2 separate regions of the Homo sapiens genome follow, and region 1 is linked to region 2. Evidence: promoter capture Hi-C in human tissues and cell types (Jung and others, 2019). All regions are on one chromosome and are shown on one strand. Each heading gives the region's core, a stretch centred on a gene start or on the middle of the fragment in contact. The rest is flanking DNA. Distances are from core to core; before and after follow the strand shown.

The links. The method cuts DNA at HindIII sites, captures the fragments that hold promoters and counts their contacts. A contact is called where the count stands out against the background at its distance.
Region 1: a fragment that was not itself captured here is called in contact with the fragment with the promoter of UBE2E2 in region 2 in 1 of the 25 tissues and cell types used here (dorsolateral prefrontal cortex).

Annotation. Positions count from the first base shown.
Region 1 is chr3:24,516,474-24,519,485 of GRCh38, reverse strand. The region is part of intron 1 of LOC107986011 (a long non-coding RNA gene); the gene reads left to right. Among named protein-coding and RNA genes, the nearest start is that of THRB, 23 kb to the right of the region's middle. RefSeq lists an enhancer at 1-311. The HindIII fragment of the contact is 4,974 bases long and covers 1-3,012 here.
Region 2 is chr3:23,201,818-23,204,780 of GRCh38, reverse strand. UBE2E2 (ubiquitin conjugating enzyme E2 E2) reads right to left here and starts at 1,454. Exons shown (of 6, transcript NM_152653.4): 1 at 1,317-1,454. UBE2E2-DT (UBE2E2 divergent transcript) reads left to right here and starts at 1,788. Exons shown (of 2, transcript NR_136176.1): 1 at 1,788-1,917. RefSeq lists a silencer at 1,294-1,983 and enhancers at 2,334-2,393, 1,806-2,781. The HindIII fragment of the contact is 11,420 bases long and covers 1-2,963 here.

The DNA.
Region 1 (3,012 bases), core at 266-2,765, 1.3 Mb before region 2:
AAGCAAAGGGGGAGGCTTTTGTAGCTATTGTCATGCAGCCCTGGCAGTTCTCCAGAGAAGGGAACATCTTCGAGTCCTTAGCAACCAACACACCACAGAAGGCGAGGGAAGTACCAGATCAGTGAAGGGGCTCCAGCGGGAACCAACAGCACCCGCTGTGCCCAGTCTCAGCTTGTCTTTGCCCCAGGTTCCCTTGGGATACCCAGGATGCCCAGATCACTCCCTGCTCCAATCACTGCAGTCTTCCCACCTATCTGGGTTCGTGAACTTCTCCTACACCAGGGGTTCTGTAGGAAGGGTTTGTTAAAACTCAGATTGCTGGGCCCCACCCCCGGAATTTACAATTTAATAGGGCTGAGTGGGATCTGATGATTTTCATTTCCAACAACCAGGTGATACCTTGCTGCTTGTCTGGGGTGCACTCTTTGAGATCCACTGTTCTGCAGCATCATTTTAGGGCATTACACCTCTGACATCTAAGCCAGACTAATCTGTCAATGATCCCTTATTTTAACTAGGTTATCTGGACAATATGCTTCCCCAAATAGTTACTCTTCTGGTGGTAATATGAGACTCGGTGGCAGATAACTTGGATACGAAAGTCTTCATGGCACCCTCTTGGTGATGCCAGTGATTCAATCCAACCAAAAAGAAAACTGGGAACTCTAAGCGTTAAAGGAAAGGCTTGAGGCAAAATACTGAATTAGCCGAAATTTCACCATCACGTCCTGAGACTCTTATTCTACCTTATGTGTCTCCTTTTTCTAGATTCCACTCTTGGGCCCAGAACATTTTATGCTGAAACTGTCTCATACCTGTTCACAAGTGATTTGAGCCCATCTCCTCCAAATGGACATTAAAATCAGCCAAGGTGCAAATATTTACAGCATGAGAATCAGCAAATTCTAAAAAACAGGAATCTTTATTTCCAGAGAGCTAGTTACTAAACTTTTACCACGTACCACTGCATCACCAGATCCTTAAAAGCCGTTTGAAAAAAGATTAACAAACTCACACCAATGTATAGTTGACAATAAAATTTAATACTTCTGTGTGCCAAGCACATACCTATTATGTGCCAGCACTATGCTGAGTGCTTTCTCATGTTTTTCTTTTATTTTCACAATAACCTACTGAGGTGTTTTTATCCTAAGAGAAAAATGAGACTCTCAGAAGTTACCTGACTTTCCCAAGTTCACACAACCAGTTATTGAGGCTACACCAGCTTTCCAAGCCACATTGACTAATGCCAAAAATCTAGGTTCTTTCTACTGCTGCATTCCTACTTACTTGTAGTTTGAGAGACTAAGGAGACTAAGTCTTAAACCAAAGAAATGATTTTTTTTAATGCAGCAGTTCACAAATGCTTCGGTCTCAAGACCCTTTCATACTCTCAAAAAGTATTGAAGACCCCAAAGAGCTTTGATTCTGAGGATTATAAATAGGATATATAAATAGCATCAATAAATAGGATATTATAAATAGCAGCAATAGTATTAGAATGGAAAATGAGTAATGTTTAAAATATTTTTACTAATCATTTAAAAGTAGCAATGATAAATCCTTATGTGTTAATGTAAAGAACATGTTTTTTAAAAAACAACTATATTTTCCAAAATAAGAAACTATTTAGTGAACAAAAGGCATTATTTTACATTTTTGCAAAAGGTTTAAATGTCATTTCTTGCTAATAGAACATCACAGACTGGGTAACTTTAAAAGAAAATAAATTTATTTCGCTCATAGTTCTAGAGGCTGGGAAGTCCAGGATCAAGGGGCTGTATCTGTAGGGCCTTCTTGCTACATCGTAACATGACCGAAGGACAAGGAAGCACGTGAGGCAGAGAGAAAAATGGAAACCAAACTTCATCCTTTTACCAGGAGCCCACTCCTGAGATAAATATCCAACTCCTGCAATAAGGGTATTAATCTACTACTTAAAGGCCCCATGTCCCAATTAATTTATCCAATTAAATTTCAACATGATTTTTGGAGTGAGCATTCAAACCATAGCGTTTAGTTTAATAGTACAGCTGGAGTCCCGTAACTGCTTCTGCATTCAATCTGCTGTAGTATGTTGTTTGAGTTGAAGTATGTGAAGAAAATATGACCATATCCAGCTTGGAAAGGCAGGATCTCATGGACCCCCAGAAATGGTCTTGTAATCACTTTGATGACTGCTGATCTAATTATTAGATGTCAGGCTCAGGACAGTGATGGGAAGACAGTAGGCTTCAAACTTTAGTCCATCCAATCTTAGGAGTTAAGATTATTTAGAATTTGACTAAGCTAATGAGCTAAATGGCTATTTTATAAGGTAAACATAAGAGTTCTCACTCTCTCTCTCTCTCCTCCCTTTCTCTCTTTCCTCCTCTCTTTCTGTCTTTTAAAACCCAGTCACTGCCCACCGATTTTCCAAATCCCAACAATGGCATTTGCAATACCATTTATTCATTCAGCAAATGTTTATTAAGCATCTAATATGTATCAGACACCATACTAGACACTAAGGATATAAAAGTATGTAAAACATCCATAATGACTGCCTCTTTGGGGCTTACAGTTTACTGGGAGAGACAGGCTATGACACATACAGAAATGTGCAGTGCTATAAGAAGATAGTGAGAGATTTTCTGCAGGAGGAAGTCTTTCCTGAGGAAGTGCTAAGGGGAGGCCTGAGGATTCCTAGAAGTGAATTCAGAAGAGGTGGGAAGGAAATGGGGAGCTCATATGGTAAGACTAAAAATGATGAGAAATAAGACCCATAGCCTATGTCAAGGATTTGGCTCCTAAAAAAAACAAAAATCAAGTTTTTAGTGGAAAAGGATGTGATGTGATGAGACCATTTAGAAGGCTTTTGAGTAGCCTAGGCAACACAAGGTCTAGAGAAGCTTCAGCTCACATGGGTGGAGGGAGATTAAGACAAGTGCACAGATTTGAGAGATGTCAGAAGGTAAAACTGATAGACATCAATGCTGAGTTGGATATGGGGAAGGAGAAGGTATCAGGGAT
Region 2 (2,963 bases), core at 205-2,704:
TATATGCACACAGCAATATCCAGCTTTAAATTTAACTGCAAAGACATTTATGCAGAAAATAACAGTGGAACACCTGATTTGGGGGTAAAAGGTGCTGCAGGGGAAAGAGAATGGGGTATGGCATTATATGAAAACACTCTATTTCAGCGTCAGCCCACATACAGAATTCCAAAGAGCCAAGGAGCATCCAAATTGCCGTAGTAAAGGCAAATATTTAGATTCACAAAGTCCAGACTGAATTATCACATATCTAGAAACATACTTTTTAAAGAAATCAGGGATTAAAAACTAAGAAGAGCGTAAAATCCTTTAGAACCGCGAGATACTTTGAGGGTAAACCCTAGCACTTCCTTTCGTACTTTTAAATAAAAATATTTTAGTAGACTCTCAAGAATACACAATACAAAACGATGAATCTTGAAAACATGCAAATGGGTCTAACAGCCACCGAGCACAGGATGATGTCTTTCTAAAGCAGCCTTAATTTCCTTAAGGGAAGATGGATTGGACATTTCTGGTTGGTCGTGGGGGAAAAAAGCCACAAGAAGCCACGCTTTATCTTCATTAGAAATGGTAAAGGGCAAAAAGATCAAAACATTATGAGAGAGATCGGAGAAAAGAGGGGGAGAAGTGGGGTGGGCGGGAAGGGGGAGAGGACAGAGGGAATCCAGTTTCAAACCAGGCCAGTGGGGGCTGCAGAGAAGAGACCAGAGAAAAATGGGCTTCGGTTCCAAACTGTGACAAGCGCCAGGCATCACAAAAGACCAATACAACACACACCCCTCACCAGGACACACACAAATATACCCCACAAGGTCTTCTCCGGGCGGGCCACCGGGGTGCGGCGGCGAAGGAGCCAAACCCGGCACTCGCCAGGAGACACACCATGTGCAGCAATTATGCAATTAGGGAAAATAGCAAAAGATCAAGCCGGGCACTTTCCACCGTGACATTTATCCTGTACTTTTGAAAAGACTTAGTTCCAGGATGCGGCTAGGAGAAGGAAAGCGCTGGGAGGGTTGAGAAGGATGGGGAACTGAGAACGGAAGGGGGTAGAAGGAGGACAGGGAGAGAAGAGGCAGAAGGGGGGGATGGGAAGAAGGGGGAGGGGTAGAAAGGGCGAGAAACGGGGGCAGGAGGCTCGCGGGAGGGGGCGTAGGGAACCGGGCACGGGGAGCGAGGAAGGAGGGAACTAGGGCACGAGCGGTGTAAGCAGAGACCTGCGACGCGGAGGGGAGGTCGGGGGAGTGAGGAGGACGTCAGCGAGAGGGAGGACGCCCGAGGAGGGGAGGCACCGGCGCGGCCCGAGCGAATACCTGAGGGGGGGGTGTCCGTGCAGGTCGCAGGCTCGAGCCGAAGCCCTGGGAGAGAGCTGCCCAGGCGCGAGGGGGAGGGAGACTGGGGAGGCCCCAGGGACGGGATGTCCCCTGCGGACCGTCTAGTCACCGAAAGCCGGACCCACGCACCACGCACCCGACCACGCCTGTCCCCGCCGCGCTCGCGCCCGCCCGGACTCACCCTCAGCGCCGCCGCTGCCGCCGCCCCCGGCCGTTCCAGCTCCGGCTCCTGAGGCTGCTGCCCGCGGCTGTCGCTGTGGCTGCCCCTGAGTCCTGGAAAGTGAAGCCACCACCTCCGGGAGCCGCCGCCGCCCGGCCGTCCGCGCGCGCACCCGCGAGTGCGCGTGCCTGCGCGCCCGCCCGGGAGAGACCGCGAGAGCGCGAGCCCCACGTCGGCCATGCGGCGCCGCGCGCCTCCCTCCTCCCCCCGCCCCTCCTCCTCCGGCGCGCGGCCGCGAGGGGGCGGGGGCGGGAGCGCGCCCGGGCGGGCTGCCCCGCCGGTCGGGAGAGGGGGTGGGGAGGCGGCGAGGAAAAGTAAAGTGACAGCTGGGTCCCGCGCGCAGACTGGGCTCTGACGGGGGTGAGCGAGGGGCGTCCCACGGGGAAGGAACGACAAGGACGGGGAGAAGTGGGGGAAACCGAGGCTGACGGGGTGGCTTGAGGGGAGGGGACGCGAGGACCTTGCCGGGCACGCGCATTAAAGGGAAACGCCGGCTGGGGGTTAGGGGTTACCCCAAGACGGTGCAGGCAGTGGGACGAGGAGGCCTTTTACCCCCATCCACCGCAGCCCTTGACTTCACGCTCGCCTCGAAGCTTTCGCAAAGTAGATACGGGGACTGACCCTGTTGACACACTAACCCAAACTCGCAGACGCGTGGGGCTCGCATGTACCCAAGACAGGAAAACTTCACGTTGGCCTGGAAACTTCTTCCAGGCTAAGCCTGAGTCTTCACCAGACACTGCAGCACGAAGGCCCTTCTGCCTTTTGGCTCGCCCTGGCCCAGAATGCGCACCAGCCGGTAGAGAGGAGCTTCGGGCCGTTTAGCCCTGGGGTATTGAAGAGAGGGGTGGGGGTACAGGGTGCACCACTGTCAGAGTGAGTGGGAAGCTGCCTTCATGCCCAGTTGAAGGATATGGGAACAGTAGCAGTGCTGTAGGTGGCATGAGGGAACATTAGGTTCCGTTGTACTCCTCATCCCAAATAACCGTTTAAAAAAAAAAAAAAAACGTACCTGCTTTGCGAACTTAGCTTCCACGAAATTTCTCCCACTCCAACCTCCAGCCTCACTTACCAACGGAATGCTGGGTCGTTGGCAACGGGGTGTCCAGGGATGCAGCAAAATTAACTTCTATCTTTGTGGAGGAAAGGATTGGAAGATCTTTCACTGCTTAATTGCTGAAATTATGGTTGCTACAGTACTTCATTTGACTGTAGATGTTTTAACTGCTATTTACTAAGTTCAAAATGGGTTTAATACAAATCAGTTACCCTTTTCATTTATTCAAGGAATATTTATTGATACCAGGCACTGTCTAGGTGGTAGATATATGACATTGAATAAAAGAAAAAAATCCTTGTCCTCAGAACTTCCCTATGTCTGAACCTTCTCTGTTGTACACTCAGCA